Linked DNA regions of Homo sapiens: all the other regions are linked to region 1. Evidence: promoter capture Hi-C in 16 types of primary human blood cells and fetal thymus (Javierre and others, 2016). All regions are on one chromosome and are shown on one strand. Each heading gives the region's core, a stretch centred on a gene start or on the middle of the fragment in contact. The rest is flanking DNA. Distances are from core to core; before and after follow the strand shown. Region 1 holds the start of FCRLA (Fc receptor like A). Region 2 has its middle 6.5 kb from the start of TRG-GCC4-1. Region 3 has its middle 1.9 kb from the start of TRG-TCC2-6. Region 4 has its middle 20 kb from the start of FCGR3A.

Evidence for each region. The method cuts DNA at HindIII sites, captures the fragments that hold promoters and counts their contacts. A CHiCAGO score of 5 or more calls a contact.
Region 2: a fragment that was not itself captured here is called in contact with the fragment with the promoter of FCRLA in region 1 in 15 of 17 cell types (naive B cells, total B cells, erythroblasts and 12 more); the score reaches 13.3 in naive B cells.
Region 3: a fragment that was not itself captured here is called in contact with the fragment with the promoter of FCRLA in region 1 in 4 of 17 cell types (total B cells, naive B cells, M1 macrophages and 1 more); the score reaches 14.4 in total B cells.
Region 4: a contact is called between a fragment that was not itself captured here and the fragment with the promoter of FCRLA in region 1, in 3 of 17 cell types (naive B cells, total B cells and total CD4 T cells). The highest score is 7.2, in naive B cells.

What each region holds. Positions count from the first base shown.
Region 1 is chr1:161,705,782-161,708,683 of GRCh38, forward strand. It overlaps FCRLA (Fc receptor like A), which reads left to right and starts at 1,448. Exons shown (of 5, transcript NM_032738.4): 1 at 1,448-1,562. The coding sequence starts at 1,484. RefSeq lists enhancers at 1-203, 1,744-1,923. The HindIII fragment of the contact is 3,109 bases long and covers 1-2,304 here.
Region 2 is chr1:161,485,652-161,488,553 of GRCh38, forward strand. No RefSeq gene overlaps it. Among named protein-coding and RNA genes, the nearest start is that of TRG-GCC4-1, 6.5 kb to the left of the region's middle. The HindIII fragment of the contact is 3,026 bases long and covers 1-2,763 here.
Region 3 is chr1:161,531,523-161,534,424 of GRCh38, forward strand. No RefSeq gene overlaps it. Among named protein-coding and RNA genes, the nearest start is that of TRG-TCC2-6, 1.9 kb to the left of the region's middle. The HindIII fragment of the contact is 329 bases long and covers 1,258-1,586 here.
Region 4 is chr1:161,568,569-161,571,470 of GRCh38, forward strand. No RefSeq gene overlaps it. Among named protein-coding and RNA genes, the nearest start is that of FCGR3A, 20 kb to the left of the region's middle. The HindIII fragment of the contact is 5,347 bases long and covers 1-2,902 here.

The DNA of each region.
Region 1 (2,902 bases), core at 198-2,697:
TTATGCCCGTGTGGTTGATATGTCTGCTCTGACCTGTGGTTTTTGCACAGTTGAAGGGTCATACTGTCCCTCTCTCTGCCTTCAAGGAGGACCAAACTACCTTCCCCCATTTCTCTCTCTCTCTTTTTTTTTTTTTTTGTGAGATGGAGTCTCGCTCTGTCACCCACACTAGAGTGCAGTGGTGCAATCTTGGCTCACTGCAACTTCTGCCTCCTGGGTTCAAATGATACTCATGCCTCAGCCTCTGAAGTAACTGGGACTACAGCCATGCACCACCATGCCCATCTAATTTTTTTTTTTTTTTTTCAGTAGAGATGGGGTTTCACCATACTGGCCAGGCTGGTCTTGAACTCCTGACCTCCAGTCCAGTGATCCGCCCACCCTGGCCTCCCAAAGTGCTGGGATTACAGAGGCATGAGCCACAGTGCCTGGCCTACCTTACCCCATTTCTGATGGCTCATTTCATCTCCAAATAACCTACTGGAGGCCTGGTGGGTGTTATGATGACAGAAAGGGGAGGAATGTGGCCACTGTGAAAAGACACATGGGCCCTACCATTAAGTAGGCCTCAAACAAATAGCAAACATTCAGAGGCAGGGACAATGGTTCCCAGGAGGCCATCTGGAACGGAAGGGAGAGGCTGTAGCCTCTATATTGCTCCTATTCCTGAGTCTCCTCAGGTTTCTCAAGATATCGGATGCCTCCTATCTCTAATTTCCTCAGGATCAGTGGCCTGAGCTTTGGCTATGAGCCTAAGCCCTGAGCTGACTGCTGGATCCTCTGGGAATAGATTTTCTTTTTCCTCTACTCTTTCCCAGTGGATTCTCCCTGCCTTGTACTCATATTTCCACTGAGACTGAGCAGACTTAGTCATGCTCCAGAAATAGAGAGCTGACACGAGTCTAGAGAAATTTGCATGCAAATTTGTGTGGGCTTTGGATAGTCAGAGCCTACTAGAGACTAATCTGATATCTAACTTGGTGCCGTGACTAATCTTCCTTCTCTGTCTCGCTACCTTCTAGTCACTAGAAACATATAAGTGTTGGAATGGGCAGGACATTTGAATTCTCATCATTGATTCTCCAGTGATTTTCTATTGGCCTTCAAACAACATCCCACCTTCTGTCCCCAGTTGCATCACCAGTGAAAAGGGTGGTTGTTGCACTGACCTTTCCCAGAGTGTACATGAAGGCCAGCTGGCTATCAGACAATGACATGCTTTGACAGGCCCCTGAGCTCTGTGAGTAAATTCTTGAACAGCTGAGAGTGCTACCATTTTGTCATAGCCCTAAGGGTGCAGATGATGCTGAAAGCGTGTTGGCCAAATCTGAATGATGAAAGCCAATTACAAACTAGAAAATGAAAACAGACCCCAGATGCAAGGAGATGAGACAGTTAAATTTACTTCCTCTTTTCTAATCTGAGAGGTTTCATGTTGAAGAAAATCAGTGTTGGGGTTGCAGGAGACCTAAACACAGTCACCATGAAGCTGGGCTGTGTCCTCATGGCCTGGGCCCTCTACCTTTCCCTTGGTGTGCTCTGGGTGGCCCAGATGCTACTGGGTAAGTAAAATATTTGAATATTGGTGTGGGAATGGAGCTTTGCTTACCTTGGGAGAAAGGACCAGAAGGAAAGAAACATGGACTAATTCTGGCCCTCCAAAGAAGCAGTATTCAGGTGGAATAAGAAGGGTAGGTATAAGAAAGTTTGGTGTACAGGATTGAATTACTTTCTGAATATAAAAATCTTCCATCCTGAAAGTCCCCTCTGATCATGATATCCTCTCTAGCTCTAATCTCAACTCTTTTCTTTCACTTGTGAGACAAGTTTTCTTAAAAGAATAGTTTGCACTTGCTATCTCCACTTCCTCACTTCTCACACGCTCCTCAATGCTTGCAGCCTGGCTTCCACTGGAATTGGTTTTGTCTAGGGCACAACGATCTCTATATTGACTGGGTTATGGCATGCTTTTCAGTTCATATCCTGCTGGACTTCTCTGCTGCACTGGGCTCTGTTGATCACTTACTCCTTCTTGCATTCTCTACTACCCTGGCTTCCATGGCACCATTTTCTCCTTGTACTACATGGACTTCTCTTGATCCCTTAATAGCTTCTCTTCTCTTCCCCTTAAACACTAGTGTTCTCTATAGTTATAGCCTTGCCTCTGTACTCCTCTTTCTTTACACAATCTCCTTCATGAGCTTATTTGTCTGTTTAATTTTTGCCACTATAACTCTGTATTTAAGAGTCCCAAATCATATCCCCAACCCTAACCATGCTTTTGAGCTTCACATTCAAATATCAAGCTTCATACCAGACATATCTACCTACATATCTCACAAGTGTCTCTGCACCATGTGACTAGAGTTGAACTTATCTGTCCTTTTGGCCCCTGCCTCATCTAATTCATTTTCCACTTTCTGATCTCAGCTAATGACACCAGCATCTACCCTTACAAGGCCATAAACCTCAGAAACAACCCAGACTCTTCCTTCTTTTTCATTCTCTAAATCTGATCAATCATTAGGTTTGGCCAATTTTACCTTCTAAATTGTTCATAGAAGCAGTCCCTTGCCTGGATCATCACTAATGTCTTAGGACAAGCCCTCATCCTCTATGACTTGGGCTATTCCAGTAAATTCCTAACTAATCTCCTCGTCCAAACCTTGTGTTCTTGAAATGAATTCTGTACCCTGCAGACAGAGTAATTTCTAAAACTCAAGTTTACCAGCCCAAATTCTTTATCATGGCACAAAAGGCCAAGCAGCCTCTACTTTTACCCTCTCAGCCTTGTAACTTATGCTCTAATAAATCTCAATCAGTTCATATTTACATACTCACACACCAGACTCTTGCCTGTCTCTAAGGCTTTGCTTATACCACTATCTCTACCTGAAATGAG
Region 2 (2,902 bases), core at 1-2,500, 220 kb before region 1:
CTTTTCCATGAAGGCTGAGGGATTCTCATCTGGCTTTTTGTCTATTCATGAACAGTTTAGAGTAATTAAGAGGTTTGGCTCTAGTTCTTTGTAGGCCCTCCAATATGCACATTAAAAAGTGTTTCCTTTTCCATTCATCTTTGGAGTCACTGGAGTTCCATTCAGGGTTGTCAAGAGGTACCACCTCTCTTCCTATTGGGAATGATGATTCCCCTATTTCTTTGCCTTCCATATTTTCTCTTTTCCTTTTTGGCCTACTATAGGAGACATATTCCTCATCTCCAAACTTCTCTGCTGTCTGTAGAGCTGACTGTTTTTCAGCTGTGGTTAGGGTTTGGCTTAAGAGCAGCATAATGTCCCTTTATGTGAGGTCAAACACCTGAGTTAAATTTTGGAAAGTTTATATATACCTACCAGGGTCATTAGAGAATCAGCCTAAGTCTCCCTTCATTTGCCTAAGGTCCTGTAATGACAAGAGAACTTGAACCCTAAGATGGCATCACCTTCATTGGGCATTTCATGTAGGGGTAAGAACAAAGTTGGGAGAGTGGGGAGTTGTGGAGATGGTAGAACTGGAGGAGCTGATGAAAATGTTGGAGGGGGCTCTGAATAAGGGGGACAAAAAGGGCCAGGACACTCAATCACTGCCTCAGATGGTTCCCCCAGGAGTTGCTTCTCTAATTTTGGGGAATCATTCCCTTTGGGCCTGCCTGATATGACTACTAAAATAACTGGGTCGATTGTGCAGTGCTTGAAAAAGTCTAATAAGAAGGCCCTGCCCTTGTGCAAAAGCAGAGTTTCAGGGTCAAAGGAGTCTCAGTGCTTTAGAATACACTCAAAAGGAGTCCTTTGTTCCCTCCTTCCTTTGGAATGGCCCAAGGTTGAGAGGAAGACAGTGGGGGCATGCTCCCAACTGTTTTCCCTCCTTGGTTCCCTGGGCCCTGGCATCCACTAAAGGTGCCACCCATGGATGCAGGCATGACCTGCAGCCATGGATCCAGAGGAGCCAAATGATGGAGTTAGTCATGCTCACCCATGTGACTCTAGTCCGCTTGTGATTTCCCTTTGACTTCCTAGACTTGTGTGATCCGTATGGCTCCCCGATAGATAGACCTCAGGAAAGACTATGTAACAGTTGTATTTGGCAAGGCCCATTAATGAAGGGAATGTACTTAGTTGAGTTCTATAATCTGCTATTGTGGCCTAAGAATAAAGCATTTATTCTTAGGCAGTGGTTGTGGTTAACTTCTGGACATAAAATCTCCTTATTATTTAAGTACCATTTTAGTTGGAGGAAAATAGGTGTCTTAAAAGATTGTAGGGACCGAATGGCGGTTTTTCTGCTGATGTAACAGTATTGGGGCTAAAATTTGGTTTTAGAGGACATTTTTCTCTCATTGTTGAGTTTTCCTATTCATAGATGGGACATACAGCCTGGTCTCTAGTAGAGGGGAGCAAAAAGGGAGAAGAATTAGAAAATAGAGTGTTTCAGTAAAGGGCTTTGCCAAGATGGCTCATGGAGAGGATTTCTATTCCACTAGGTGGCGCTGTTTAAATACCATGTGCTCTCCAAACCAAGGGGAGAGAGAGAGATGTTCACTGGGGGCAAGGGTGGGGTGGTGGTGCGAAACTTTTTGTTCCTAGAAAAATCACAAAAATGGCATTCCCTTTAGCTATATTCCTGGTTACGATGGCATTTGTTGATCTTGACTAACAGGATTATTTTCCTGAGCTGTATGAATTCCCACAGCATTGCATACAGAGACTGGATAAGAGACATGGTGATTACGGACAAGAAAGCAGGAAAATTGCCATAGGAAAAGCTGGAGATCCTGTTGCTGACACCCAACAGTGTGGCAGTTGGAGGCTTGGGTTACTCCAGAAGCCTTCAGGTAATACAGGGGTGTGGCCCTTGCCTGGAACCATCAGTTGCCTCTGGACCTTTTCCAGCCCAACATGACAGCTAGGATCTCCATGAAAGGAAACTGGTTTAAACAGAGCGAACTTTCCCAGCACTCTGAGGCCACTGGGGTGTTTGCCAAGATCCTCCCACCAAGTGTGTCATCTGAGTCTTGAGATCCGTGGCCACCTTAAAGGTTTTAAACTGGCCATCAGACACTCAGTTTTTAGTTTAATTTTAAAATTGAGGGCAGAAGGCCCTGAAATGAAAGTAAATATTTGGAGTCTGCTCCTATCCTCACCCTTCTGATGAATCTACTTTGGATCCTAGATGGGCCCCCACAATGAAATGGCCTCATTGTCTGAGGTGATACCCAAGGTCCGTTGTCTCACAGTCAAGGAAATCAAGGACGTGAACACACAGAGAATGAGGTTAAGAGCAGAAGTTTAATGGGTGAAAGAAAAAGAATACCTGTCTGCTGGAGAGAGGGGTCCCAGAGAAATCAGTTTCCAGATCTGCAGTGAAATGCAGGGGGTTTTATAGATACCTGGTGAGGAGGCAGTGTTTGATTTACATGGGGCATTAAAGATTGGTTGGACTAGGTCTACCATTTGCATAGGGTGCAAAAAACTGGTTAGGACTAGGTGTGCCATTGCCTAGGATGCAAATTTCTGGCCGCTCCCACTCTAATCTTTTATTATGCAAGTGGGTCTTCTTCCTGAGCTGGGCCATGTCGCCTGTTCCTTTACTGTACATGTGGTAACAAAAAAAAACATAAAGGAAGATGGAGCCTGAATGTTGGATATGCCTGGCCCCCGGGTAGCCCTTTTCTATTGGCACAGCTGCTGGCATTCCCCTGTGCAAGCTTCCAGCTTGCTTATGTATGTTTGCAGCTCAATGTTTTAGGCTGCTCTTTGTTAGGAAAAAATAATTTCTTGGGCTGATTTCTCTTAAAAGGAAAGCTCTGCTGAGGACTCTTTTACCTTCACTATCTGCCTAAAT
Region 3 (2,902 bases), core at 172-2,671, 170 kb before region 1:
GCACTATTGAGCACGTGAACTTGGCTAGTTTCTCTAAGAAACTGCATTTTCAAATTTAGTCTTAGTAAATAAATCAATTGAAATAAAATTAATAAGTGAAAATTTTAAAATGGATACTTAATAACTCAACCATTGGAGAAGGTTTCAGTGCATTTGAAACAACGTGGCTATTGAATCTACTTTTTCAATTGTAAATTTTATGAAATCTAAATACGGATTTTTTTCCGAAGAAAATTTCCTTTCCGAGTTGAAATGTGCCGTCTTTAAGTGTAAAATACATAGCGATTTTTGAAGACTAGCTAAGAAAAAAAAAAACAGCCAATTAATATTTTTATATTGATTACTTGTAATATTTTGCATACGTTGGGTTAAAGAATAGGATTTGTTATTAAAATTATCACCTCTTTCTTTTTACTTTTTAATGTGACTATTAAAAATGACATGTGGGACTCGAATTATGTTTCTACCGTAGTGTGCCGGTCTAGAGAGTAGAAATATAACTTTGCCAACAGTCAGCGACTTTCCCTGAAAGCATGCTGGTAGCTTAGGAATATCTTTTTCTAAAAGACAATTTCCAAAAAAAAACGCAATATTCCCGGTTGTACTCGTTAGTATAGTGGTGCGTATCCCCGTCTGTCACGCGGGAGAGCGGGGTTCGCTCTCCCGACGGGGAGATTACAGTTGCTTTTTATTTTTTCTCCTCGTCTCTTCAGTCAAGAAAAAACAATTTACAAGAGCTTAAAAACCAAATTAAAATAATTAACAAAAAGAAACACAAACTCCAGTCCCAGTTAGCTACAATCCCTTTTTAATAAATTCCAGTCTTCATTTTAAACCTAGTTAGCTCCTAACACCTATTTTTCTTATATGCCTGTGTTAATGTTTAGGCCTTGTATACTCAATGCTGTAACCCAAATTGTTTCCTCTCGCCTAAAGGCTATCAAGCTCCAAAGGGCAATGCAATAAAACCACGCATAAATACGCCTTTCTTCCAAAAACCCTTCAACCTGCGCCCCCGCCCGCCCCGCAAAAACCTTAGCTGCTGTTCCCCACACAACACCCCTTTCCAGCAAAAAATTGCCAAAAAATTCAACACCCAATCTCCCTAACAGCAGTTAGGAGTGGAGACCCTAAGGGGGAACTGAAAGGAGTTAGTTAGCTTGGTAGATAGCAAGGGAAGTGTCTCTGGAGAGCCCCTGGCCCCACGGGTCAGTGCCTCATTCCCACATAACAAAAAAGCAGCCTGGGAAAAAGTCAAGCTTCGGGCAAACTAGCACCGGAGGTTGCGCCTGAAAACATGCCGGTGGCTGCACAAATAGGAGAGCCTCCGACTTTCTGAGATAAAAACTTGCACAAACCTCCAGCTCACTCAAATAAGGGAACAAGGCCTGAAATAGAAATGCCTTTGTTCTTTGTATAGTCAGCGGGCTCCCAGGAAAAAGTTCCTTCTCTTTTTGTAGGCATAGGCACAGTAGGCTCCAGTGGGTTCCAGTAAGCACTTTTCTTTCCTTTTTTTAAACTGCAAGTCCAGCCTCTATAAATCACAAGTTCAGCCCCTAATTGGTCCTGGGCAAGGTCCCGAGCCAAGCTTTCACTTCAGTTCCTTAATAGGTCTAGGGCCAAGCAAAGCAGCCTCTACAAATCATCACTTAAGCCCCTAATTATTCCCGGCCGAGGTCCTAGGCTAAGGTCCCGGGCCAAGCTTTCTAATTAGTCCCAGGCCAAGGTCCCAGGCCAACCTAAATCACGCATTCTCCAAAACAGCCGGCAAACTAAGCACATTCCTTCCCGTTTCCAGTCCATAAAACCCCCCCAAGTGGCCTCATAGTAAGCAACCCATTCGGGCCCCCCTCTCTGCTGGCAAAAGGCTCAGATGTACTGGACTGAGCATTTGATTTGGAACTGAGTTACATGGGAGAGAGGCAGGGATTCAGTTTGGCTGGGAATCAAACTCTTTTGATAATTTCCTAATAAACTGATAGTCATTAGATGACTTGTAGTCTCGATAAGTTGAAACTTTTTCCTAACATGCTGTTTATGATACTGAGTTCTTTGTCACCGGTTGAACTAACAGCAATTGTATTCACAAATTTTCCAGCCTTTAAAATACTGTCTGAGGGTTTTATGTATCCGTTATCTTTTATTATACAAAAGTCATTTATTGGAATGACATATATAATTAGATTGACCCTAACCATTCAGGCTGGATGAGGCAACACAGTGTGAAGATTAAGTGCATGGGCTCTGTTGTGCTTCCTGTGTTTGAATCTTGGCTCTCTTTGTCTCCATTTCCTCCTGTAAAAGAGGATAATGATGATAATTTTAATTCTTCAATGGGTTAATATATAAACATATATTACAAATGTATAAACATTGCCAGGAGGGTCCATTGTTAATGCCTGTAGTGGGATGATGTTTGAGATTTTAAGTCTCATTCCCTAAAATGGAGGTGAAATTCAACAGGGATGGGAAGAAAGGACATCTGCACCTCAGCCACCCTTTAGCTCCAAACCTCCCTTATGCTCTCATCTGCCCCACAGCCTCCATCCTGTAACAAGAGGACCAGCTGTGCCAGTGGAGGCCACAGCATCTAGCTTATGCCTTCAATGTAACCTGTTACTGCCCACCTGCTCTCCCTGATATTCTCTGACTCTTAGTACTAAGGTCCCACAGAGGCTGCAGTGCCCACGGGCAAGAAGAACCAAAGGGTAGTACTGACTGGTAGTGGCTAGCCACAGCTGTGTGGGGCCAGATTGACACTGCGCAATCGCTAAGTGGATCAGTGTTCAGGCTGCCCTGTCTTGGGAGACATATAGGGACAGGGACCTATAACCAACACCTGCCATAGGCTGGCTTCAGTTAGCCCTTCACGTTGGGATTCACTGAGTGGTTTTTCTGGAAG
Region 4 (2,902 bases), core at 224-2,723, 140 kb before region 1:
CCGGAGATAAAGACTGAGGAGTCATCAGCATATAGGGAGTGAAGCAAGGCTGTCATTCTGAGCACTATTGACACATGGGGCCAGATAATTCTTTGTTGTGGGGGGCTATGCTCTCCACTGGAGGATATTTAGCAGCTTTCTTGGCCTCTACTCAATAGATGCCAGGGGAAGCCCTCTCCAGTTGTAATAGCCAAAAGTGTCTCCAAACATTGGCAAATGTCCCCTGGGAGCGGGGGGCAAAACCAACTCTGTTGAGAACCACTGGTGTAGAGGAAGCCAAGAATGTAGATAAAATCATTTAGAAGTAGTAAGACATATACAGGATCACGTTTCTTAGCCCTTTAAAGTTCATTTTCAACCTCTTTGAACATAAACATACTTTGTTTAATTTTATCTTAATTTTCATATCTAGTTTGTCAAGTTTACAAGTATTAAATTGTATTATAATGCTAAAAAGGCTTTTAAAATTACACCTCTACCTCTCCTTCCCCCTCCAGTTCTGATGCACCCTTTGAGGGGGTCTCTTCTCACTTAGAAAATTATTGATAGAGAATTATGTAGAGGACAGAAAGCTGAACAAACACCAATATTTAATGGACAGGTGAAGACAGAGGAGTGTTCAGGGAGAGTAAGGGGAGTCATCAGAGGGACACCAGGAGGGGAACCCAGGTAAGTCGTGATGAAACAGATGGTGAATGACTTCAGAGTATTTTGGCCCTGCAAACTGCAAGGGTACATTGTAAAAGACTGCATAGTGCCCCTGGGGTTCATAAATCACTTCTTAGAGAAGTGAGAGAATTCTGAGTTCTCCCTGGGCTTAGAGTAAAAAAGGCATTTCCAGTGATAGGGCCCAATGCAACATTTAGGACAACTCGGGGAAGAAAACTTTGAGATTCAGAAAGAAAAATGACTTCTTCTGCCAAGGGAGAGATAAGGAAAACTGCAGATGAGGAGATGGCCTGAGGTTTTGGTCTTGAAGGGAAGATCAGAAAACAAGGTCTGGGTTCCCGTTTATTTTGGAAGCAAAGTATTATCGTGCATTAGAAACTAGGCTCTGTACTCTTCTTTTGCTTATCTTCATATCTTAGAAAACTTTTCTTTTAAAATCTTCCAGCCAGTTTAGTTGGCCAAGAGAAAGATTTAGATATTTTGACATTTCCGCCAATATAACTTCTGATTATCTCCTTTGTGGCTGGCTAGAGTGGTGGCACTGGCATCCTAGCTCTCCAATCAAAATTTTTAAAATAAAGATCTGGCCGGGCGCAGTGGCTCACACCTGTAATCCCGGCACTTTGGGAGGCCGAGGGGGGTGGATCACCTGAGGTCGGGAGTTGAGACCAGTCTGACAACATGGAGAAACCCCATCTCTACTAAAAACACAAAATTAGCCAGTCGTGATGGCGCATGCCTGTAATCCCAGCTAATTGGGAGGGTGAGGCAGGAGAATTGCTTGAACCCAGGAGGCAGAGGTTGTGGTGAGCTGAGATTGCGCCATTGCACTCCAGCCTGGGCAACAAGAGCGAAACTCCATCTCAAAAACTGAAATAAAATAAAATAAAATAAAGATCTATGGGCATTTTAATAATGCTCTATTTATCTGTGATTTTCAGCAGTTTAAATATGATATGTTTAGGAGTGTGTGTGTGTGTGTGTGTGTGTGTGTGTGTGTGTGTATTTTAGTCTGCCTATGCTTCTTTGTCCTTCTTGGATTTGTGGTTTGATAACTTCCATTATTTTTGAAAAATTGTTGGCCATTTTCTCTTTAAATGTTTCCTCTCTCCCATTCTTTCTCTATTCTCTGGGATTTCAATTACATATATGTTAGGCCAGTTTACATTGTCCCACAGTTCTTGGGTGTTCTGTTCTATTTTCTTTTTTTTTATTCCTTGAATTTCAGTTTGGGTAATTTCTATGAACCCATTTTCAAAGTACTGATTTTTTTTTTCTCAGCTGTATGGCATCTACTGATGACCCTGCCTAATACATTCTTCTTCTCTTTTACTCTGTTTCAAAATTTGCTAATATTTCCATTTGACTCTTCGTATAGTTTCTATCTTTCTGCTGAAATTCCCCATCTGTTTATGTATGTTGTCTACCTTTTCCACTAGAGCCTTTAACATGTTAAATATGGTTGTAATTAATGGTTTGATTTTAAAATTCCCTATTTGATAGTACCAACATCTGAATCATCTTTTAGCAGTTTCTATTGCTTGCATTGTCTGTTGACAGGATTTTTAAACCTTGCTTTTCTGTGTTGGCTCATTGTTTTTATTGAATTCTGGACATTATATGTGGGACAGTAGGAACTGAGGTAAATTGCATTTATGATTAGAAATGAGAACCCGTCTTATTCTGGTAAGCTCTTAGTGTGGGCCAATCTAGTCAAGAGTTGAGCTGGGTTCGGGTTTTATTATTGCCATAGTTACCTTCAAATTCTTCTAGTGTTATCTTGTGCTTGGGTGGAGGCAGCATTTCAGTAGACCAAGAGCCGCCGGTACTCCTGGATGGTATTTTCTCAATTTTCCTGCACTACCCCAACTTTAGGACTTTCTAAAGTATGTGCCTGCACCTCAGAGATTCTCTCTTCAGTGGCAGAGTACTTTTGCTTCTTATTCAGTACTTGCTAGCCTGGGAGGTAGGGCAGAGATTTATCCATTGTGAAATTGCCTTTGCAGAATATATATATATAAATAAGGAGAGAAATCTGGCTGGGCGTGGTGGCTCATGTTTGTAATCCCAGCACTTTGGGAAGCTGAGGCAGGTGGATCACCTGAGGTCAGAAGTTCGAGACCAGCCTGGCCAAGATGGTGAAATCCAGTCTCTACTAAAACTACAAAATTAGCTGGGAGTGGCGGCAGGCGCCTGTAATCCCAGTTACTTGGGAGGCTGAGGCAGGTGGAGA